Linked DNA regions of Homo sapiens: regions 2, 3, 4 and 5 are each linked to region 1. The links are contacts of gene promoters, found by promoter capture Hi-C in blood cells and fetal thymus (Javierre and others, 2016). All regions are on one chromosome and are shown on one strand. The core of a region is centred on a gene start or on the middle of the fragment in contact, and the rest is flanking DNA. Distances in the headings are between cores, read along the strand shown.

Region 1 (2,698 bases), core at 118-2,617:
TTTACGTCTCAGAAAACGAAAGCCGAACCCTCAGCAGGATTTGCCTGAAACACTCTCACAGACTGAGGTGGACCCAGGATTCAACTCTCAGTCAGGCATTTTTCTCACTTACCAATGCATACAATTGCCAAGTTATATGGCATACTGGAACCCAAATTCAGGAGGCAGCACAATCCCCTATGAGAGAGGAGGGGCTGGGAGCCAGATGTCTCACAGCTGTCCAGTATACTAGCTAATATACGGATTAGGATCTGTGCAAAGCTCTTTTCTTGCAGGGTCATTTTTTTTCTTTTTTCTTTCTTTTCTTTTTTTTTTTTTTTTTTGAGACGGAGACTTGCACTGTCGCCCGGGCCGGAGTGCAATGGCATGATCTCGGCTCACTGAAACCTCTGCCTCCCGGGTTCACGCGATTCTCCTGCCTCAAGCCTCCCAAGTAGTTGGGATTACAGGCACACACCGACATGCCCGGCTTTTTTTTTTTTTTTTGTATTTTGAGTAGAGACGGGGTTTCACTATGTTGGCCAGGCTGTCTCGAACTCCTGACCTCATGATCCGTCTGCCTTGGCCTCCCCAAGTGCTAGGATTACAGGAGTGAGCCACCGCGCCCGGCCGCAGGGTGATTTTAAGGCCTTTATGGGCCCAAGTTGCATTATAAAATGTTATATCCCAGATTCACTGGAATATGTACGATGAGAGCAGGTGGCATTAATATCTTGCAGTAATGAACTAATTGGTAAAAACCGTTTTGTTTACATTAAAATGGTTCAAAAGCCAGCGACACAGCGATGATTGTTTCCATTTAGCAGATGTGGATACTGAGGCACAGAAAACGGTCAAGCCTTCTGCCCACAGTCACCAGAAAGGAGGAAATTCAAGTCTGGGGTTGTGTGGCTTCAGAGCCTGAGCTCAACCATGACGAGCACACTGAAAAGGAAACCCCTCCTAACTAACTCCCGCTCCGGGGTCCTTTAAGAGCGTCAGAACCCAGAACTGAGTAAAACAAGATCAAAGCGTATGTAAATACGGACTAGGGGCTGCCGGGAAATAATCACTACGGCTAGGCCCTAGGGAAAGCAGACGTCGGAGTCCTAGTGCGCCTGCGTAGCCCCATCTCGCCTTTCCGCCCCACGGCCTAGCGAGGCCCATCTCTAACCCACACAGGCCCAAAGTTGTCTAATGTGCGCAGGCGCCCTGCTGTGAGCCCGCCTCCTTCTCTGCCCTGCTCTTGCGCTCTCGCTCTCTCAGAGTTCGTCTCTGGCTCTTTGTACGTCACTTCCTGTTTGTGGCGCGAGAGGGCGGTATTTCCGTCCAGAGGGTGGGAGGGGGCGGTAAGCGGGGGCTGGGGGGAGGGGGCGGGGGGGGCCGCGCCGTGCTAGCCGTTGGGCCTGCCTCGGAGGAGGCGTCGCCGCCGCCGCTGCCGCTGCCGGCGCCGTTGCCGCTGCCGGGAAACACAAGGAAAGGGAACCAGCGCAGCGTGGCGATGGGCGGGGGTAGAGCCCCGCCGGAGAGGCTGGGCGGCTGCCGGTGACAGGTGAGTGCGCCAGCGCGTGTCCCCGAACGCCCCCCCCACGATGGTCGCGTCCGGGCCCCCCGCGGTGCCGCGATGGGCTGTACCACCCGTGCCCGGCGGGGGGACCGCGGCCCTCGAGCCCCTCCTTCAGGAGCTGAGTGGGGGTGGCCGAGCGGGGGCGGTGGGACCAGCCTCGGGGGGCCGGGGCGGTGGCGGCGGGCCATACCACTGAGGCGGTGGGGGGAGCGCTGCAAGTTTGCGGGACGGGGAGCGCAGGCCGCAGCGTGCGCGGGCCGGGGGCTGGACCTTTCGGGCGCGGCGGGCAGATCGAGCCTGGCGTGCGCGGGCTAAGCTATCGAGGGGGCGCGCCGCATCAAGTGTAGAGGGCTGTACCTTTTTGGCGCTGTGGAAGCCGTTGCTGTGCTGTATTTACAGGGGTGGGGGCTTCTGGGGAGGATGCTTCCCCAACTGTGGCTGGGTTATATCACCACGGCGTTGGGGGAGCCCTGCTTAGAACGTAGGGGAACCCAAATCAGAGGACTGTGATGTTTGTGATCTTTAAGGGACTGGGACGGGGCGGGACAGGCCCTAGTGGGTTTTAGGGGCGTATTTTGGGAGGACTGTGATGCCGATTGGTGAGGAGGGGTTTCTGTTTCCTGTATTTGACGTGTGTGGCGTTGGGGGTTTACACTGATCTCAGCCTTTATTGAACTTCTTAACGACTCTGGAGGGAACGTCATGGTTACTGGGGTGCTTTGGACCATGGAGGTGCTGCTCTGGATTCCATTACCCTCTCAGATTATTTACCAGGCAGTAACAGTTCTTTCCTTCCATAGGGGAGGGAGGAAAGCTGTGTTAGAAGTCACTGAAGTTGTCTGAGCCTTAACATTCTGAAGAGGAAGAGGGATTGGGCTTGGATTTGAGGAGCCGTGCCCCTGCACCCGCTTGTTAAAACTTGGGAGGAAGGAGTGTTTGGGGGAACACCTCTTCCCCCCAGGGAAGCTCTCTGGGGGCATCTTGATCTTGGGATTGTGAGGACCTCTTCCTCTCATTTGGAGACCTCTTGGGGCTCAGCAAGACGCCTGGGCTGGAGTAACTAGAGCCTCCAATGGGCTGCTTTTCAACTTCATCCACTCCTACCTTCCCAGAGAAGCAGCAGGAGTTCACTCGTGGGCTGAACTTGGTTGG
Region 2 (2,500 bases), core at 1-2,500, 470 kb before region 1:
GCTTCCTGGAGGAAGGGTCCTGTGACCTCAAACCTTGTAAGATGAGCAGCAGTGACCACGTTAAAGGGCAGAGTGTAAGATGAACTAATGGAGTGTTGAAGACAGGAAGTAGTTTGTGTAAAGGCCAAGGAGTTAACTCGAAGTTTGGCTGGACAAACACTTAGAAAGAGAGGCGGGTGCAGGGGACGGAAGAGGGGCCAGCCCGTGCGGGACAGTCTGGACTCCGGACTATCCCGAGAACTCACCATCCTTCTTGATCTTCTCATTGAGGTTGTTGATATAAATAGTGTGGTTAGGGCGGGTCTCGGGAACTGCCATGGAGTGAAGTGTTGAGGTAAGTCTTAAAGGAGGAAAAACGTGACTTTAGCCCTGGGTTTCTCCAAATCCTTTGTCCCAACGTCGGCTGCTCAAGGATCTTCCTCCGAAAAGGAAGTCAGGTAAGGCGGGAGTAGGGGCAAGGACGGAGGCAAAGCGCGACAACAAAGCGTGCGTAGGACCCGCTTCTCCAGCCCGCGTGCGGAGAGAACTCTCGAGAGATTTACTACGACTTCCAGGATGCTCTACGCGACCCGGTGGGCGGAGCACCCTAAATGGCGATTCCCATTGGCCCAAGCATCCGAAGGGCCGTCCCGGAGAAAAAACCCGGATGTGGGAGCCAGTATAGAAAAAAGGGACAGGTCCTAGGCAGCCTGGCCTCGAGCAGCAAGTTTCCTCAGACGGGCCCAGGAAGGCCCGGACGCCAAGCGTACCGCTCGCCTGCCGCCGATGGTCGTTTGCACCGGAGGTTACCTTCCGACAGGGCCGTAGTTCTCTCAACCGGCGCCTGCTACTTCCCTGAGACCAAACCACAAAGCTTTCTCTCCTGGCCCCGCCTCTGCCTTTCTGCCAGCCAATCGCCGCGCGGAAACGCAGTAGCTTGACCAATCAGAGCAAGTCTCGTTTCTGGGCTCAGCTGTTGCCAATCAAAACGATATTTGGGTTCCCGCCTAGGTAGAAAAACCCCGCCCCACTCCCTGAAAGCCCACCTCCTTCCGTGGCGCCCGGGTCTACGGACCAATCAGTGAAGGTCACGAGTCTGTACGCGTCTCGCGCTGCGGTGTCTTCCGGAGGCAATCCTTTTTGGAGTCCCGCCTCTTACCCCCGCCAGAGCTGCGTTTTCTGTCACGTGATCGCAAAATGGGCGGGAACTGTTGCGTGTAATACCACGTGATATGGGAAAGGCAGTGTGCGGGGGCCGCCATTTTCCGGGAGTGGGAGGTGCACTTTACTTCCTGACTCCTTTCCTTTTTCCAGTGGTTATCGCGGCGCCCACCGGCCTCTGATCTCTGAGTCTTCTCCAACCCACAGACGTTTTTTGTTGCTCTGGTTCCAGGACCTTCTCCACAACTAGGCCATTTTCCCTGCCAGGTGTCCTTTTTGACCTCTTGACCTCTGACTCAAAGGTCAGCTCAAAGGTTCCGAACTCGGGCCTGGGATGTGAGGGGGTACTGAACCTAAGTTCTCCGAATCTTTAGCCCTGGGTCCCTAAGTCGCATCCTTAAGGCACCTCACTCTAGATCTGAGCCTTCATATCCCAAACTCACTCATGAGTTTCCACATCCAGCCCCAAAGAATGAGTTAACTCCTACTAACTCTCCACCTAAGACTCCCGAGGTAACCCAACCGGTACCACAGATCCGGTTCCGGATTTAAGGACCCCACCCTGTTAACCGTCAGGTGCCTTATGACTTGAGTCAGCCTCGCAATTCCTGCTCCCGTGGTTTCAAATATTAGCCCTGGTCCTTTCACACCCACTGCTCAGTCCCCAGATTCTGGAACTCAGCTCTTAAACCTTTAAAATCTCCATCCCTGAGACCGTTCTCCGTTGGAGGATCCTTCCCTCCCCGCTTTCTGAACCTCTCAACACCTCCTGTAGACCCCAAAATGACTTCTCCATGCTCTCCTCCCCTAAAACCACCAATTTCTCCTCCAAAAACCCCTGTACCCCAAGCCAGCAGCATTCCATCTCCTCCTCTACCCCCAAGTCCCCTGGACTTTTCAGCTTTACCATCCCCTCCCTGGAGTCAGCAGACCCCTGTTCCCCCACCGCTCCCACTGCCTCCTCCACCCGCTGCCACAGGGCCTGCTCCCCGTCATGTCTTCGGCCTGGAGAAGAGCCAGCTCCTGAAGGAGGCCTTTGATAAGGCCGGCCCGGTCCCCAAGGGCAGAGAAGATGTGAAGAGGCTTCTGAAACTACACAAGGACCGGTAGGGTCTCCATGCCCCACCCACCACCCAGGCTCTGCCCTAGACACTTCACAGATCTCTTGGGGTGGGGGGGGGGTTCCCGTGTCCTCAAGATCAAACAGGCTGACTACTTAGGTCCCCCACCTAGATCTCTTCCATGGTGGTGTGCCTCCAGCAATGAAGAAAGCTGTCCTCACAAGTGCCCAGTCCAGTCCGGGTGCTTTGGCTCATGCATGTAATCCCAGCACTTTGGGAGGCCGAGGCGGGTGGATCAC
Region 3 (2,698 bases), core at 80-2,579, 410 kb before region 1:
CTTATCCCTTCCCCGTCTGCCCTGGGTCAGAGGAGCCCCCTTGGGCTTCCCAGTCTTGCCTGGCTCTCCTCCTTGGCCCAGGAGCTCAGGATCCCTGGGGCTGGGGAACTCCCAACTTCGTGCCCTAGATCCTGCACCTCCCCACTCGAAAGTGGGTATCCGAAAACTAAGCCAGGGAAGCGGTTAACTTATCTTTGCCAACATTTGAGGGAGCCTTGGGCCGCTGCATGTCGTTATGCAGATCAGACTCATCAGGGGGAGCCCTCACCTCTGCCTCAAGCCTCCCGTGGAAGGCGAGATGGTCCTGGAGGCAGTCCTCACCTCTGCCTCCCTCGCTCCTCCAACAGCTGCCTTCTCCCGGGTTCCAGCCTCTCAGTGTGTTGGAGAGGTAGGGGTGCGGGGTGGGGGGGAGCTGAATCTTCAATCGGAATAAAAGCAGCCCTCCCCTTCCCCCAGCTCTTTTCTCTGCGCTAGGGTTGGGGGGAGAGGGGGAGGAGCTCGCCAGCGGCCTCCAGGTGCAGATGGCCAGCCCCCCTGCACCCCCTTGTCTGAAAGCCTCAGCCCTGCCTGTGCCATCTGTTGCCGGGAACCTCCTTCTCGCCTTCCCCACCCCCCCCCACGTGCTGACCACCTGCTCTAAGGGCTGTGGCAGCTGAGGCCTCCCACACACACAGTGCCTCTTGGCTGCGGGCTCCCTCCCCTCACTCCTGGCAACCTCGCCTTTACTAATGGGCTCTAATGTCCCTGCCAGCTGCTTTGCCAAACCCACAGGATTGGCGTAGGGGGCGGCGGGGGCGCCGTAGCGGCCAGAACCGCGCCCTGGTCCCACCCCGGCGCCCCCGTTCCCAAAGCCGAACCGATCGCGCATCAGGACGCCTTGGTCTGTTCACACCCCCTCCCCTTCCTTGCAAAAAGTGCCTCGTCACCGCTCCTGCCCGCCCCCGCCGGGCTGGGGAACCATGGGGTTAGCGGGAAGATTTGGGGGTGTGGGGCGGCAAGGCGCCTCTAGAAGCAACTCTTTCGGACGCGGAGCTGGAGGGGATCTGAGGTCAGGTGTCACGGAGGGAAAGGGAGCCCAGGCCAGGACGGACCGGGGGAAAGGACTCGGCGATGTTCATAGGCATGCTCAGCTCGGGACTGGCCAATGGGCGTGGCGGGGCGGTGGCCGCGCCGGGGAAGGCGGGATGGTGTCTGCGTGTGGGCGGGGTCTTCAGGCCAAGGGGCGGGGCGGGGCGGGACCTTTCTGCATATACGGCAGGCGGCGGGCCAATGGGCGGGGTCGGGGCGGGGAGCCGAGGCCGAGGGACGCTCCCCCGCCCCCGGAACGGAATCCTCCCGGGAGCCGAGGAGGCTCGCGCGCGTGCATCCCGCACCATCCCCCGGCCCCGGGCCCTGGCCGGCGTCAGACCGAGCTGCCGCCGCCACCACCGCAGCAGCAGCAGTCGGGGAGCCAGGCCCAGCCAGGGCCGCGGGAGGCGGGGGCGCCCGGGCCCTGGATGTCCCGCAGCGCGGCGGCCAGCGTGAGAAGGGCGGGAGAGGGGGGCTCGGGTCGGGGGCGGCGCCGCTGCTGATGTGGCGGAGGGTGGGAGGCGGCCGCGGCGCCCGGATGGAGAGAGGGTGCCAAGGCTGGAGAGGGTGGTCCCGGGTGGGGGTCCAGGAACAGGCCCAACAAGCCAAAGCCCAGGAGACCGGGGTCTTGGGCACAGACCCCTGGGCCATCTCTTGCCAAGGCCCTGGAAATAGGGATCCTGGACACAGACCCCCCACAAAACCAAGGACAGGGGTACAGAGATTCTAGGTACAACTCCTAGAACTAGATGGGGATGGAGATGGGGTCGGGGACACAGCCCCCGTATCAAACCAAGGCCTCCAGGACGCGATTCCAGACACAATCCCTACCTCTCCCTGCCTAAGGGGGTCTCAGCACAACAACTGCCTAGGTACGGTCTCGAGGATGGGGTCACTGGGTACAGCGTTCCCACCACGCCAAGGCCTAGGGGGACTCCAAGCACAGCCTGCCCCCAGGTCTCAGAGGCACCCTGGGCACAGCATCCCCCCAATCCTTGGGCGGAGTCCCAGGCACAGCCACTTCTCAAAACAAGGTCCCTGTGCCTGGGACTCCACCCCACCCCAGCCTGAATAAAATAAGGACAATTTCAGGCAACCCCCAATCCCTCCACCCCCTGGCTTGGTCATGGGTCCCAGGGCACAGGATCCCTAGGCCACCCCCTTTGTCCCCAGGGCTGCCCAGCTGTCCAAGAGTGGCCCCACCCGCAGACAATGCACCGCTTCCCCCTCCTGGACCTGGCCCTCAGGCTCCAGGATACAGGCTGGGCTGGGGGCGGCTCCCCAGGGACCGGGTGCAGCCCTGTCTGTCTGCAGTGTCTGCGGTGACGGTGACGGCGGCTTTGTGTGTGGTACCTGGGGGGAAGGGGGGAAGCAAGCGATGGGGAGGTGGCTAGGAGTGTGCCCTGTGTTTGTGTGACTGTGGCTGTGTATGTGTGTGTGTGTGTGCACGCGTACGCTGCAGCTGGTGACTGAGGAATCCTGTGTCGTGTGTGTGTGCTTGTGGTGGTGTCTATGATTGTGTCTGTGACCCTAGTATCTGTGTGACTGTGTATGTGTGTGTGACAGCTGCTCACTGTGCAGAATCCTGTACTTTTTAGTCTGTCTGTGTTTGGAGGTGTGCATGGTTGTG
Region 4 (2,698 bases), core at 86-2,585, 310 kb after region 1:
ATGACCAGCGGGATGCTTTGGATTCGCTTCACCTCCTCCTGGGCATGGAGAAATTCCTTTTTCAGGTTCTTTTGCTCATCTTTGATGTATTCCTCCTGCACCTCCAGGAACTCCAGCTCTTGCTGCAGCTTCTGCGAGCAGAGAGGGGACAGAAGGGGATGGCTCCAGACTTGCTGATCCAGAGAGTGGTGGAAAGTGGGGAAGAGTATGAGATGTCAGGTCCTGTGCAAGGTCTGGGTTGGGGGTCGAATGTACCTTGTAGCGGCTGTACAGGTCCTCCAGGTCCTCAGGCTCAGGGCCCAGGAAGGACAGGCCGGTCTGGGGCCGGGACACGGACAGTGCTGGGATCTCATCCTAGACGAAAGGGGATAACTCACATTGGAAGAAGACAGTCCTCTCATGAAAGCTTCCCAACTTCACTAATGTTTGTTCCCCTCCCCACTTCACCCTGATGTCACTTAGCCCCTAACAGACCCCTGATATCTTAAGACCCTCTAAATAGATCCTGGAAACCTTTTGGCCACCTAAACAAGCTCTTTATGTCAACTTGCCCCTCAAACAGATCTTATGTTATCATATACCACTCATAACATGTCCCCAGTGTCACACAACCCCCAACTAGGATCTAAACGTCACATCAACTCCTTATCAGACCCAAATGCCACCCAATCCCCTTCAAGAGGTTCCTAATGTCACATGGCTCTCCTAGATAGGCTGTTAAAGTGACTGCGCCTTCAACGAGTCCCAACATTCCCCAGTTTCCCCTCAAAGATCCCTTATGTCACAGTCTCCTAACTCACCTTAGACCTAAATATCACTCAGGCAAGCCACAGATAATACTTAACTACCCGCCCCATTACCCCCATCAGCAAAGCCCTGAACATCAGTCAGCCCCGCAGCCCAGACCCGGGGATCACTCGGCCGCACGGCGGGATCCCATATATCACTCACCGCCTGACCCAATCCCAACGCCGGGCCACCGACCTCACTAAGCACTACCGGCCAGGGTTCGAAATCAATCCGTCTCAAAGACCCACTAACGTCACTCACTCCCCCAGCCCCGCTTTCTGAGCCTTACCTCCTACCATCACTCGGCCACCCAGACAGGCCTTCGAATGGCACAAAGCTCTCCACCGAGGCCTCTAAAATAACCCCAACCTGGGCCGGGGTCCTGGAAGCCATTCCTCCCCCCACTCAGGTCTGGCTTCACCCTCTCCCCGCGAGCCCGGCCCGGACTAAAAAGCCCAAGTCCCCACTGTACCTGAGCCTTCTCCACCAAGATGCCTATCTCCTCCATAGTGACCAAGCCGGCCTCTGTGTGGCCTGGGATGATCTGTCACCGCTTCCGCTGACGACAACGGAAGTCCCTGGCTGAGGAGGCTTCTGGGAAGTGTAGTTTAAGTTACGGCTGAGAGGTGCTGGAAGGGCAGGATAGGACGAAGGGCTGGTCTGGGCTCCGCCCTCAACATAAGCTCATGCGCTGTCCGTACCCGCAGGCGCGAGGGCGGGACGGGAGCTGTGGGCGTGCGCAGTATCACGCGGTGGCGCCATCTCGCCCTGCCGTGGAGGGCTGGGGGTTCTCTCCGGGAGGTGGCGCAGCCCCGTTGCTCTTTCAACGGAGTAAGTTCGCAGAGCTCTGGCACGGACAGTCTGGCGGCCAACTGCTCTTCGCTTTCTAGTGTCTGGGCTGGAGGGTCCTTGAGCTGGGTTCCACAGAAGGGATTGATCGTACGGGCGGGTAAGGTCTCCACGTGGCGCTGATCCAAAGATTGTGCGCCGCGCGGGCGTGGGAAGATCCGAGCTGCCCCTGAAGGTGACATTTCATACTGGGCTTTACCCCGGGATTGAGGAGCCCCGAGCCCGCAGTGAGCAACCAATCGAGTAGAACCCACGCGTCTGGGCTGGGGAAAAGGAGGCAGCGAGTGCCCAGAAGTTGGGTAGCACAGGAGATCCATAGACCTTAGTTCTGTATCCCAGGTTTCCGCCTTACAGATCTATGCCAGGTCCTGCGCTTAAGCTTTACAGGCATCATCGTCGCAAGTATTATGTTTCCTCATTTATAGAGAAGGAGACAAGCTCAGAGCCACGAAGCCACCAGCCACAGTCAACAATGTGCCGAAGGGACAAAGCATAGATTGGGACCCAGGTCTGTCTGTCCCCAAAGCCTGTACTCTTGGCCCCAGGGAAACACTGCTACCCTTCACACCAGCTACAATTTTTGTTAAGTAAACCTTTTATTGAAGTTAAATAAAGAGAAGAGCACAAATCATTACAGCTCGACAAAATTACACAAAGTGAACATGCCCATACAACCTGAATCCAGATCGCAAAACCAAACAGTAGAAGCCTCATGTGCTCCCCTTTCCCCCATCCCTTCTTCTCCCCCCTCCACTCCCCGCCCCGAGACGGAGTCTCACTCTGTTGCCCAGGCTAATATTTGTATTTTTAGTAGAGACAGGGTTTCACCATGTTGGCCAGGCCGGTCACAAACTCCTGACCTCAAGTGATCTGCCTGCCTTGGCCTCCCAAAGTGCTGGGATTATAGGCGTGAGCCACCACATCCGGCCTCCCGATCCCTTCTAAAGGTTATCATTCATCTGTTTTTTTCTTTTTTTTTTAAGAGCTAGAGTCTCTGTCGCCCAGGCTGGAGTGCAGTGGCACGATCATAGCTCACTAGAGTCTCCAACTGCTGGCCTCA
Region 5 (2,698 bases), core at 135-2,634, 290 kb before region 1:
GGTTTTCTATACAATGAGGATGATAGCTGGGGGCTCCCACTTACCCAGAGGAGTGAGCCCATAGAACTGGGCTTCATGGAGGAGGCTGGAACCGTGGACACCCCTGGGTAGTAGAATTGACTAGAGGTCAGGGTCTAGGTGTGGGGGTGAACAGAGAATGCTGAGAGGGTAATTTTCAAAACTGCACAGAGAATGTCAAGGGGTAGAAAGTTTTGATGGAATAAAGATGCTAAGGAGTGATGATATGGGTGGAGGAAATGTTGAGTGTGTGTGTGTGTGTGTGTGTGTGTGTGTGTGTGTGTGTGTGTAGGGAGAAATCGAAGGACATAAAATTTTAACATGATCAAGATTCTCATGAAGTTTTGCCTGTTTGCTTTTTTAGAGAAGGGGTCTCGCTATGTTGCCCAGGCTAGTCTCCAAATCCTGGGCTCAAGTGATCCTCCCACCTCGGCCTCCCAAAGTGTTGGGATTACAGGCGTGAGCAATCCCGGCGCGCCCGGCCTGTGATCAAGGTTCTGAATGAGAATTCTAATAGAATGGAGCTCACGTGGACATTCAGAGGAGGTGAAAGAACTCCTCAGGGACTGAAGACAGTGAGGGACTCCCTCCCCTTTTTCCATGCCAACCTGGGATCCAACTCTTTGGTGCGCAGGAAGTTGAGGATGGGGGCGAAGACTGTAGGGTCCCTGTCGATGAAGATCTGCGGGAAAGGGGGGCAGAGGATGGATGGGGTAAAAGGCAGGACTGAGTGGGGTCCTGCCCCTCTTCCTACCAACCCCTCCCCCCCATCCCATTTCAGTTCTTGTCCGACTCACTGCTCCGGTCTCATCTTTCAGCGTCGAGATGCGTCCGCTCAGAAGACTGCAGGGAAGGGACACCGAGCAGGCGTCACGGGCCGGGGGAGTGGATATTAGGTCTCCCACGCCCTCTCCATCCCTCCTACCCTCGCCCCAAACTCGCTCTCCCGATCACCTGGAGAAGAAGGAGTCTGGGATCCAGGTGAGAGTCTGGCGAGAGGTACTGAATCTGGGCGGGGAAGGTAAACGGACGCAAGAGATGAAGAGGAGCGGGTGAGGAATGCGTCCCCCTCCCGCAGGATCCAGGGTTCCCTCCCCTTCCCCCTCCCCCGGCGTTTTTCCAGAATCTCGCGCCTCCAAAGGGGGGGGGGGCGGAGCAACCCTTGATGGACAGGGATTCCCCCAGGAGAGGCGGATACTCCCACCCCGCTTCCCGCCCCCGAGGATGGGACCTCAGGAGTCTCCCACACTCACCTCTTGCCTCCCACATTCAGATGAATGACTTCCCCGGGAGGCCCCCGACTGGGGACCCCCTCGGCTGCAGTAGCCGCTGCTGCCATGGCCCCCGGGCGAGCCGGCTGGCCCGCACCCACTTCCGGGTGTGCACCCGGACCCCGCCTCCATAGGCTGCTCATTGGGCCAGAGACTCCAGGAGTCACTAGCGATTGGACAGAGCGCCTGCCCATCGCGGTTAACTTTTCCGCCTCCTTAAAGGGGTCCGCCTTTCCTGAACTTGACGGGGCGGACCCGGAGTCTCCTTTGGGGAAGTTTATTACGAAGCATAACGAAATATTCTCCATCCCTCTAGGTTCTCGTCAAGGGGCGTGTGTTTAGACCCCGAAATTAAGTCCACATAAAAGGGTACATCTGGATGTTCTCCGCAGCCACGGTACCCCCGTGCCCCTCTCCCCACCCCGCACCCACCCCTACAGCCACCACAGCCCTCCTTTCAATCCTCCCGGGCGCAGCCCAGAAAACCCAAACAAAGGACCATAGACCGTCAAAGCCAAAGGGTTTATTATAGGTACATACAGTGTGCGCCCGCCACACCGCCCCACACCCCCGGGCCCCAGCGGCTTCTCCAGGCGGCCATGGGGACTGCCCACAACCCAATCCCCCGACTCCCCAGGGAGGTGCTCCAGCCAGAAGCATGCAGGGGTGGGCTTCCCCTCGCCCCTCCCCTCATGAAGTGGCATTTACAACTGGAGGGGGGAGGAGAGAGGAAAACAGTTTTGAGCTTTGACGCCCCTCCCATTAAAAGCCTTCGCGGATGCGGGGCGGGGGAGGAGGAGATCGACGTTTTGCAAAAATAAACTAAGTCAGGAATTAACCGCATGGCTCTGAGGCGGCGGAGTGCAGGGGGCTAGGGCCCCTTCACTCCCCCCTCCCAGACAGAGATCAAGGCAGCATTGGAAGTGAGGTAAAGGCGGGGAGGGGGTGTCCCCTCCCTGCCCCCTAGCACCCTGGATGGTCCAGGGGACCTCACCAGCGCCCCCGTGCCCATCCCTAGGGCAGAGAGGGGGGCAGGAATTACTGCCCCCACCACCCCAGCTTCTTGGGGCAGGATCTGCAGATCGGGGCTGGGGGCTTGGCTCAACTGGCCCCCTGCCCACCCCCATCAAGCTCAGTTATTGCATAAAAATAAGGGACCCCCAGCACCTGGGGTGGGGGTGGTGAGTGGGAAGGGGCCGAGATATGGCTATAGGGGCAGCAATCTCCCCACCACTTCTTGGGGTGCAGGAGAAGTCCCCTCCTTTCCGGTGCCCACCATGTCACGCGTCCTCAGTGTTGGAACTAGGGGCTCCCGCCCCTGCGGAAGAAAAAGTGTCTTTGTGCCCACAGTGCGGAAAAGAGGGGAGACGAGATGTGTCAGGTCCTGGGGGTGGGAAGTCACTTCCTGC

What was found. Contacts are between HindIII fragments. The CHiCAGO score rates a contact against its expected background, and 5 or more counts as called.
Region 2: a contact is called between the fragment with the promoter of ACTMAP here and the fragment with the promoter of AKT2 in region 1, in 3 of 17 cell types (total B cells, activated CD4 T cells and fetal thymus). The highest score is 8.0, in total B cells.
Region 3: a contact is called between the fragment with the promoter of NUMBL here and the fragment with the promoter of AKT2 in region 1, in 1 of 17 cell types (neutrophils). The highest score is 5.1, in neutrophils.
Region 4: the fragment with the promoter of PSMC4 here is called in contact with the fragment with the promoter of AKT2 in region 1 in 14 of 17 cell types (erythroblasts, fetal thymus, total B cells and 11 more); the score reaches 11.8 in erythroblasts.
Region 5: the fragment with the promoter of SHKBP1 here is called in contact with the fragment with the promoter of AKT2 in region 1 in 12 of 17 cell types (monocytes, neutrophils, erythroblasts and 9 more); the score reaches 11.2 in monocytes.

What each region holds. Positions count from the first base shown.
Region 1 is chr19:40,284,014-40,286,711 of GRCh38, reverse strand. It overlaps AKT2 (AKT serine/threonine kinase 2), which reads left to right and starts at 1,367. Exons shown (of 14, transcript NM_001626.6): 1 at 1,367-1,531. RefSeq lists enhancers at 215-1,046, 2,203-2,342 and a silencer at 1,333-1,832. The HindIII fragment of the contact is 30,037 bases long and covers 1-2,698 here.
Region 2 is chr19:40,749,227-40,751,726 of GRCh38, reverse strand. It overlaps ACTMAP (actin maturation protease), which reads left to right and starts at 1,250. Exons shown (of 6, transcript NM_198476.5): 1 at 1,250-2,246. The coding sequence starts at 1,924. SNRPA (small nuclear ribonucleoprotein polypeptide A) reads right to left here and starts at 524. Exons shown (of 6, transcript NM_004596.5): 1 at 246-524. The coding sequence starts at 318. RefSeq lists enhancers at 1-545, 633-702, 1,243-1,482, 1,174-1,799 and silencers at 456-638, 903-1,042. The HindIII fragment of the contact is 2,474 bases long and covers 856-2,500 here.
Region 3 is chr19:40,689,282-40,691,979 of GRCh38, reverse strand. It overlaps NUMBL (NUMB like endocytic adaptor protein), which reads left to right and starts at 1,329. Exons shown (of 10, transcript NM_004756.5): 1 at 1,329-1,520. The coding sequence starts at 1,497. COQ8B (coenzyme Q8B) reads left to right here. Exons shown (of 15, transcript NM_024876.4): 15 at 1-450. RefSeq lists silencers at 637-876, 1,197-1,536 and enhancers at 223-1,160, 2,376-2,425, 2,099-2,698. The HindIII fragment of the contact is 12,323 bases long and covers 1-2,698 here.
Region 4 is chr19:39,969,802-39,972,499 of GRCh38, reverse strand. PSMC4 (proteasome 26S subunit, ATPase 4) reads right to left here and starts at 1,335. Exons shown (of 11, transcript NM_006503.4): 1 at 1,262-1,335; 2 at 256-354; 3 at 1-131. The coding sequence starts at 1,297. It overlaps LOC124904720 (a long non-coding RNA gene), which reads left to right and starts at 1,529. Exons shown (of 3, transcript XR_007067260.1): 1 at 1,529-1,620; 2 at 2,064-2,146. RefSeq lists enhancers at 372-1,051, 1,076-1,465, 1,966-2,015. The HindIII fragment of the contact is 1,611 bases long and covers 409-2,019 here.
Region 5 is chr19:40,575,559-40,578,256 of GRCh38, reverse strand. SHKBP1 (SH3KBP1 binding protein 1) reads right to left here and starts at 1,384. Exons shown (of 18, transcript NM_138392.4): 1 at 1,272-1,384; 2 at 973-1,026; 3 at 816-861; 4 at 627-700; 5 at 45-103. The coding sequence starts at 1,357. SPTBN4 (spectrin beta, non-erythrocytic 4) reads right to left here. Exons shown (of 36, transcript NM_020971.3): 36 at 1,793-2,698. The coding sequence ends at 2,688. RefSeq lists silencers at 1,286-1,355, 1,376-1,555, 1,906-1,995. The HindIII fragment of the contact is 21,373 bases long and covers 1-2,698 here.